2 separate regions of the Homo sapiens genome follow, and region 1 is linked to region 2. The links are contacts of gene promoters, found by promoter capture Hi-C in human tissues and cell types (Jung and others, 2019). All regions are on one chromosome and are shown on one strand. The core of a region is centred on a gene start or on the middle of the fragment in contact, and the rest is flanking DNA. Distances in the headings are between cores, read along the strand shown.

Region 1 (4,342 bases), core at 1,006-3,505, 360 kb before region 2:
AATAAGGCTGAGGGGAAATGAAGAAAGTGCACCACGGAGTGCAGGTAAGTAGGAGGTTCTTAGGCAGACAAACTTTGACAGAGAATGACATTGGTTCAAGGAAATTTAAGGAAACCTGTCACTGGGCCTAGGTCATTAGAACACTCCTAATCACCAGGTATGTTGACTGACTTCCTGGTGCATGTGCTAGAGTATGCTGAGGCTTCCAGACACTGCCGGCCACTAGGGAACCCTGCTGATTCATGGGACAAGTGGCACCATCGAAGATATCCAAAAAGCATCCATTAGGTAATATGAAAATCTTAGACAAGAAAATACATACTTGGGGAAATAGGTTTTATTTTTATTACTTTTTTACTCTACTAACTGAAAGGTAGAATTTGGATTTTGAGTCATAAGCTATGGCATAGGTAACAGAAGGATGGTTTCAAGTAAAAATGGAATATAGCCCATTAATGCTAAGAACACATTTTCTCAGATGATAATTGATCTAAAAAGAGGACTTTAAGCCTGCTAAAGAGCAAAGAAAATCTCCTGAGCTTATAGAAATAGCTACTAAGAACAACAGAAGGTATGAAATGGAAAGCCAAGCAATGTTACAGGTGGATATACAGAGTAACTCATGTAAGAAAACCAAGAGATCCGGAGGCTGAGGGAGGAGGATCGCTTGAGACCGGGAGTTCAAAGTTACAGTGAGCCATGATCATGCCGCTGCACTCTAGCCTCGGTGACAGAGCGAGACCCTGTCTCTAAAACCAAAAACAAAAACTAAGAAGGGAGCTAGCTAGAAAAAAATATTTATATGCTCAGATGCCTCTATCCTAATGTGCATTGCTAAGAATGTTAGTCTGGTGTTCTTAAAGGAGGGAGGAGCTGAAATCCTTAAATGTGACCCGTGCACCTCACACTGGGCAAAGGCAAGCTTCTACATGGGATGGGGAAAGGGCTGGTGTGGGTGTCCCAAAGGGGAAGTCGTGTCAAACTCTCCTTTTAAACTAGGTGACCTAAGTGACAAATCACCGGAATCATGTTTTTGGACGTTGAGTTGTTTGACAGAATTTTCTATGATCTTTGCAGATAATATGCAGAAATAAGGGTAGGATGACAGTACAGTTTGTTGAATGGCAGGTAAGTGACCAATGAGCTGAATAAAAGAACCCCAAGAGACGACACTCTAGAGGCTCTGTCCTCACTCTGTCCTCTGTAGATGAAGACAGGGAAGGAGGGCTTGCCACCCCTGTAGATGATGTGAAGGTGGCAGAGGAAGTGAATATTTTAAAACCACAGGGTCAAGATTAAAAACACATACACACAAAACCTTATAAGGTAAGAACAATGAACTATAATAGGGAAGAATGGAAAATTCTGCCTTTGAAGCCTCAAAATCAAATGCAGGTACAGAATGGGGAGAGGACGCTTAGCATACACAATCTGCAGAGGGGCTTATAAAAAATACATGAAATAAATAAATAATATATTAGTTACCTAAAGAGCTAATGTGATCTGAGGTTGCCTAAACACAAGTATGGTGTCTTCCTACTTGGGACCAATGAAGAGAAACTGCTCAAAATGAGGAGAGACAATAAAGGGAAGCAAGACTGGAATCTTATTTGTTGCTAATATTGAGTCCTTATAATCTGACTCGCAGCTTCCTGGCTGTTTTACTTAACTTCTCTATGCCTTAGTTTAATCATATATAAAAAAAAATAGGAGTAGCTTCTTCATGGGGTTGTTGCAAGGATTAAATCAGTTAATATACGTAAGTGATTAGAACAGTGCCTGACACATAAGACTGCATTTTGTAAGTGCGTGCTCTTTTTATTAATGATGGGGTATTTTATAATTTATAGAATACTTTCATCTACTTCAACCCATCTGGTCCTGACAAAAACCTGTGAGGAGGGCAGAGGTTCGATCATCCTTTGCTTACATTTGAAGAAACTAGAGCTCAGAGTGTGCATTTTGCTCCCTGGGACAACGCCTGTCAGTAGAGACAGACTCAACCAAGTTCTTCTGACCGCCTGGCAGCCACGCTTTCTACCACACTGTGCTCCCTCAGGTCCTGGCTGCACAGGTGCATGTTGGGGCCTCCTGGAGCTCTGGGGATAACAGGCCCCACCAGGAGAACCCTTCACCAGCAGTTCTTCCTCTCCCTCTGATTGGGCCGGGCTGGGTCTGAGGTAGTGGAAGGCTGTGGCTGAACTCTTTGGGTTTCACCCGTAGTGCCTTAAGACTTCTGGGGGGTGACAGGGGAGAAACAGTCATAGAGAGGGGCCCCGTCACTAAAGCAGTTGTGGACCAGGGAGTAAAGGGAATACCTAAAGTCAAGAAGAAAAGTGGAGGCTTGAAGATGAGTAACAGGAAAGCTGGGGAGGGAGCAGGAGGAAGGACAGAAAAGGAAATGGAGAGAAGTGCCACCAACAAATCCTCCAGTTGCCACCCTGTGCATTAAGCTACATTCCGTTCACAGGAATGTGAGAAGAGAGGGGAGTGGAGGGGGAGGCAGGGAAAGCATGAGAGAGGAGCCAATGCAGGACTAGAGAGAATACCTTATGGGTTCCAGAAGGCAGGTGGAACCCCAGGCTTCTACCTTAGGCCGTAAGACCACATTCTGCCTCCTGAATTTGGTATCCTGTTGACAGTGTACATTACATGTGTGGGAGCTGACAGGAAAGTGGCCAGAATATATCAGTCTTGATTTCCTGAGAACACACATCTCTGGCTAGTAGAAACTTTTCACTAATACCTCATTCTCTCCAGAAAACCTAGCTGGGGAAGCCAATTACCATGGAATCTGGCCCACAAAATAGATAAATAGATAACTAATAAAATTTCCCGGCATTCTGTTCTGACTTTTCCGGAGACTGGAAGTCCAGAAGCAGAGAACTGTTCAGTAGAAAGAGCAGAATACAGTAGGGGTTCGGTTCCATTTCACCAAGCTTGATGGACCAGCTTAGGTTGCCCTCCTACCAATGCCCCTGGGAGGATCATGAGGATCAGAGCTCTTCAGAGCTCCTCTCTCTCCCAACAGAAGAGGGATTCCTTATTTTGCCATCTTGGGTAGCAACAGTAGTGAGAACTTGGCTCCGGAGTTAAACCAAGACAAAGAGAGTCCAGGCCAGCCTTGCAAATATCAGCTCATCAGAAGTGGTCAGGCTAGCCATCACACAGAGGATGAGCGGGGATAAAGAAGTAGTGAGGCAGCTTTGACAGCAGCAACCAAGCTGGGCTTATCCAAGTTTTTCCCAGCCAAGGATTGAAACAAACCATGTCTCTGGCAAGCATTCCAACCTCCTATGCATTACGAAGACATGCTCAGAGATGTCAGAGGCTTTGCAGTAGCCCAAGGAAAAGTCAGAACTAAAACTCAGACCTGAGCATCACCTATTATAAAATGGCACAAGCAAGAAGCAAGCAGCTGGGAGAAAAGGGAAAGAGGAGAGGCCAGGGCAACCTGCACCCTCCCTCTATCCCTCAGAAGGAGAGGAAGCAATACCAGTACCTGCATTAGGACGACGTCTCAGCCCACCAGCACCAGAGCAAAGCCGAGATGACCACCAGGCCTACAAGAGGCAAGGAGAAGATGGGGGGATTGGGGGTAGGGGATGACTGCAACACACCAAAATGAGAAAGAAGCACGAGGAGAGACCAGGAGATGTGAGACATAAACGCATGGATCCAACAGATAATGAAGATGAGAAAACAAAGGGAAAAGAGAAAGGAATCAAGAGGTTAAAAAACAGGTAAGCTAGAGCAGTTGCATGTCTTTTCTGCTGCCTGGGCCTTGGTTCTTTCCACCGGCAGTCTGCAGGAATTGCAAAATTGAATGGGTTAAGCAGCAGCTAGGTCCAAGTCAGGCGGTGAGTCCAGTTTTCTTTCTGTCTCGTCACATACCTCTCATATCCTGTCAAGCAGGAGGTATCTGCATCTAGACCTTTCTTGTGACTTTTCCTAGGTCACTCTAGGAAGAGCCAGTCTTCTACCAGGTCACCTGTCCCTTTGTTCTAGCCTGCTTTCCATTAAGTTTCTTAGTATTTTGGGCTCTGGTCCCTTAGATCCCCTAGGAATCTAATGATATCATTGTAAGACAACATGCACCGAAACAAACTGACAATGGAGAAGGGCTAGTTCTTTCACTGCAACAATCTTCCAGAGAGAAACCGATTTTGCAAGGTGGTAATACACATGCCCTAGAGCTGCCTGCAAAAGACGCAGGACCCACGGGGCAAAGGGATCTCTCCATATATAGAAACATAGAATATATTTGAAGTAGAAAAATCAGGTCTAGCTTTAGAAATGTGGCACCGAAGGTAAAGACATCTGTGAGGCTCTGAACCAGCAC
Region 2 (4,036 bases), core at 1,314-3,813:
CAGAAGTCAACATGACACACAGTAGAAATATATATTCCACTTTATTAGTTAGAAAAAATCATTTAAGCCACATGGTGGCCACAATGTCCATAACTTGAGCAGGCTTTGGCATCCCACCACCCCCTTCAGACCAATACACACTATGTTGGAGGAACGACTTTAAAATGTAAAATGAGAAATGGGCACTGAACACTCCATCCTCACTCCCAACAGCCCACCCACACAACCTCTTCAACTGCTATCCAAACATGGAGGAGCTCTTGTGGAAGAGAGGCTCAACACCAAATAATTGAGCATAAGACATTCAAGACTAAAGGAACCCCAGACAGATGTTTAGGAAGTAGGGTTGAAAATATCACCATCTCCCAACAGCTGAAGTTGGGACATCTAAGAGATGTCAGAGCCATACTGCTGAGGAAAGCACAGCATACACCAGACCCCGGGGTAAGGGCGAGATCAACCTATCTCATAGCCATAAGCAATCCACTCACACCTGTGCATTAAACAGGCTTTTTCTTTTCTTTTTTTTTTGAGATGGAGTCTTGCACTGTGGCCCAGGCTGGGTACAGCAGTGCGATCTCGGCTCACTGCAACCTCCGTCCCCGGGTTCAAGCAATTCTCCCGCCTCAGCCTCCCAAGGAGCTGGGATTACAGGCCTCTGCCACCACACCCAGCTAACTTTTGTATTTTTAGTAGAGATGGGGTTTCGCCATGTTGGCGAGGCTGGTCTCGAACTCCTGACCTCAGGTGATCCACCCACCTCAGCCTCCCAAAGTGCTAGGATTACAGGCATGAGCCACCGCAACCGGCCTAAACAGGCCTTGCCCAGGCAATGAGCATCCAGTTAGACAGGTTCTTCAAGGCCTAGTAATAGTTCTCTGGTTACAACGGTGCTCAGCTTGTCTGCTAGGAATGGGACTCCCATCTGGACATGTCTAGGTCAGTGTTCCAAAATATGGCCAGTATGGAAGGAGGTCTTATCACATGCTTCTGGATGGATGGTCTGGAAGGCCCTTGGTGGGCTCTGTGTTGGCTAGTTGGCTTCTGGTGGTCCAGGAGGTCCCAGGCGATGGGCTCTCTAGTAAGCCCTCTAGGGACTCCATCACTCTAACGAAGATGGAGAGTAGGGTCAGTACCACACCTAACAGGTAGAGGTTCAACACATGCTTCATGGCTGAAAGGACCCTACTCCTCTGCAGAGAAACAGAGCTGCCTTCTCCTTCTGAAAGGCCTCTGGACCCTGAGAAAAAAGAGGAAAGGATGAATCTATAGCCTTTTGGGGATATGCATGCATCCAGCCCTGACTCTTCTGTCCTCTCACAGGGCTGAAGGAGAGGCTTAGCCAGTGAGGGACACAGGGACCAGGGAGTTGCACAGCAACTCTCCAAGAATATTTTACATTGCAAACTTCATGGCTGCGGAGCCAGTGTTGCTTCTTGGACTAATTCAAGAACACTTCTTAAAACTTTTACTTTCTTAGGCCAGGCGCGGTGGCTCATACCTGTAATCCCAGCGCTCTGGGAGGCCGAGGCGGGTGGATCACCTGAGGTCAGGAATTCGAGACCAGCCTGACCAACATGGTGAAACCCTGTCTCTACTACAAATACAAAAATTAGCCGGGCATAGTGGCACATGCCTGTAATCCCAGCTACTCGGGAGGCTGAGGCAGAATTGCTTGAACCCGGGAGGCAGAGGTTGCAGTGAGCCAAGATCGCGCCATTGCACTCCAGCCTCGGCAACAAAAGCAAAACTCCGTCTCAAAAACAAACAAACAAACATTTACTTTATTGAAAATTTTGTTCCTGCAAGGCACAATACACAACCCCTGTGCTACAGTGCAGGCATCAGTCACCTTCCTGAAATAGGCCCAGTCCTTTTGCAGGGGGGTGGTGGGTAATGGGAAATATAAGAACATGCCCTGGAGAAAGGAACCTGCCTAGAAGTCTCTCCCACATCACAGATTGGAGTTAACTACAAACTTTTTGCAAGTCCAAATAACTCTATGAGGGTCAAATCTATCAAGTTCATTTATTTAACAAACATACCATGAATATCTGCAATGTGTTAGGTACCCTGGAAGATACTAGGGCCACATTGCAAACCTTATAGACAAAGGGTAGTTAACACGCAACACGCTAAGTGTTGGGACAGCAAGGAGATCGTGAAGGTGCTCTGGGAGGGCATGGCAGGGATGCCTAACTCAGCACCTGTGGGCGTGGGATGGGCCACGTGGATCCTAGTTAGGACCACCTTAGGACAAAACAGGGCTGACGGCTGAATGGGGACCCCAGATGGGGCGTGGGCGATCAGAGAGGATCCCGGCGGCGCACCCCCAGCCCTGGAACGCGAGGCTGCTAGCGCGGCGAGCACTCTAGCGATGGGGGTGGGGAGCCGGGGAAGCCCACAGGGCCGCTCACCTCCGGGGGAACAGCCGGGAGTGGATCGCCGGCTGTAGGAGCAGGTCGTGCAGGAGTCCGGAGGAAAGTCGGTTACTAAGCACCAGCGCAGAAGCTTCCCGCCACAAAACTCACCGGAGACAAAAGCGCCGTCAGCCGCAGAGCGCAGAGCAACGCCGCCCAGCCTCCGCCCCTTATAGCCGCGAGCACGCCCCAGGAGGGTACGCGCACGCGCACTGGAGGCCGCACGCACGCCCGGGACGCACACGACGTGGCGCACGTCCGCGGCCCCACCCCGCGGGCAACGGGGTTTGGGGATTGTCCCGGGTGCTCTCCCGCGGAGCTGTTTCCAAAAGTACACGTCGTGCGGTTTTGAGTCATTGTGTTCTGGAGTGAGACGAGGCGTGTGTATTAATCTCGACTGCCATCTCTGCTGTAGAAAACATTTGAAGGAGTCAGAGAGCACATATCCCTTCTCCCCAGTAGGTGAAAAACACCGATGGCCTTCGTGTCCGTGAAGCCCCGCCGTGAAGGGTGGGTTCTTCCCCAGAGATTTCGGGTGCACTAAATTGTCAGAGGGCACCAGACCCCTACCCCACTCGTTATTTTCTTCATTTCAAGGACTGAAGAGCTGGTTTTGTTTCACTTCATAGCTGTACCAAGATTCCAAATCCCGAGTTTCAGTTGCCATCGGTATCTCTGGAATGGTGAGGCCCTTGTGCAACATATTAAGCTCTGCAAGCTCTGCTTTCTATGAGAGTTTGTCGTGTCGCTTCAGAAAACGTGAAATACTCCTGGCCCTGGTGTGGGATCCTAACTGCATATGGGCAAGTCACTTGGTATTTAAATGGGCCTCGGTTTTCTCATCTGTAATGAAGACATTGGCCACTAGATGATTTTTCTTCTTCTTCTTCTTTTTTTTTTTTAAATAGAGACAGTCTCGCTATGTTGCCCAGGCTGGTCTCGAACTCCTGATCTCAAGCCATCCTCCCACCTCTGCCTCCCAAAGTGCTGGGGCTACAGGCGTGAGCCACCGCGCCCGGCCGCTAGATGATTTTTAAGGGTGCTTTCGGCTTGAACTAAAGAGCCAGGAGGTCACAGACCAGCCTTATGTCCAGATTTGGGGGGCTAGGCTGCCTTACTAATCACCCCCGAACCCACCCAGCCAAGACTGTGCGGTCTGTCTTGAGAGCACGCAACGGGGGATCTCAGAAAGTAGAGTCCCGGAGAGACACTGGGAATGGGGAGGACCCCCGGGAAGGGGTGTACACGCCGTGGAAGGGAAGGCCGCTGGTGGCTTTAGAACTGGCGGTTCCGTGTACCCGGGTCAAGTGCCCGTGCCGGATGGGAAAGAACCCTGTGACTTTCCACATCTCAGCGAGCTCGGCGGGCTCTGCTTAAGAAGGGCTCTAAGACGGGAAGGGAGGAGCCATCCCCACTGCGACCTTTCCCCTCCTTTCCTGGCTGGCTGGCTGTGGTCTGTCGGGAATGAGGGGGTGGGGAAGCCGGGAAAGCAGAAGGTTGGGGCTGGAGGTCTGCTGGCAGGCAGGCAGACATTTGGAGCCAACTTTCCTGCTCAGCCCGCAGAACTTTTGGTCCTTCGCTATACCAGAGTTTCGTCTGTTTTTTTGCTTGACTGT

The links. Contacts are between HindIII fragments. The study calls those that stand out against the background at their distance.
Region 1: a contact is called between a fragment that was not itself captured here and the fragment with the promoter of HILPDA in region 2, in 1 of the 25 tissues and cell types used here (hippocampus).

Annotation. Positions count from the first base shown.
Region 1 is chr7:128,817,025-128,821,366 of GRCh38, reverse strand. It overlaps CCDC136 (coiled-coil domain containing 136), which reads right to left. Exons shown (of 18, transcript NM_022742.5): 17 at 3,503-3,609. The coding sequence ends at 3,508. Among named protein-coding and RNA genes, the nearest start is that of FLNC, 11 kb to the left of the region's middle. The HindIII fragment of the contact is 4,770 bases long and covers 1-4,342 here.
Region 2 is chr7:128,454,405-128,458,440 of GRCh38, reverse strand. It overlaps HILPDA (hypoxia inducible lipid droplet associated), which reads right to left and starts at 2,563. Exons shown (of 2, transcript NM_013332.4): 1 at 2,418-2,563; 2 at 23-1,240. The coding sequence starts at 1,172. The coding sequence ends at 981. It also overlaps the pseudogene EFCAB3P1. RefSeq lists a silencer at 2,511-2,650 and enhancers at 2,751-2,920, 3,829-4,036. The HindIII fragment of the contact is 5,129 bases long and covers 420-4,036 here.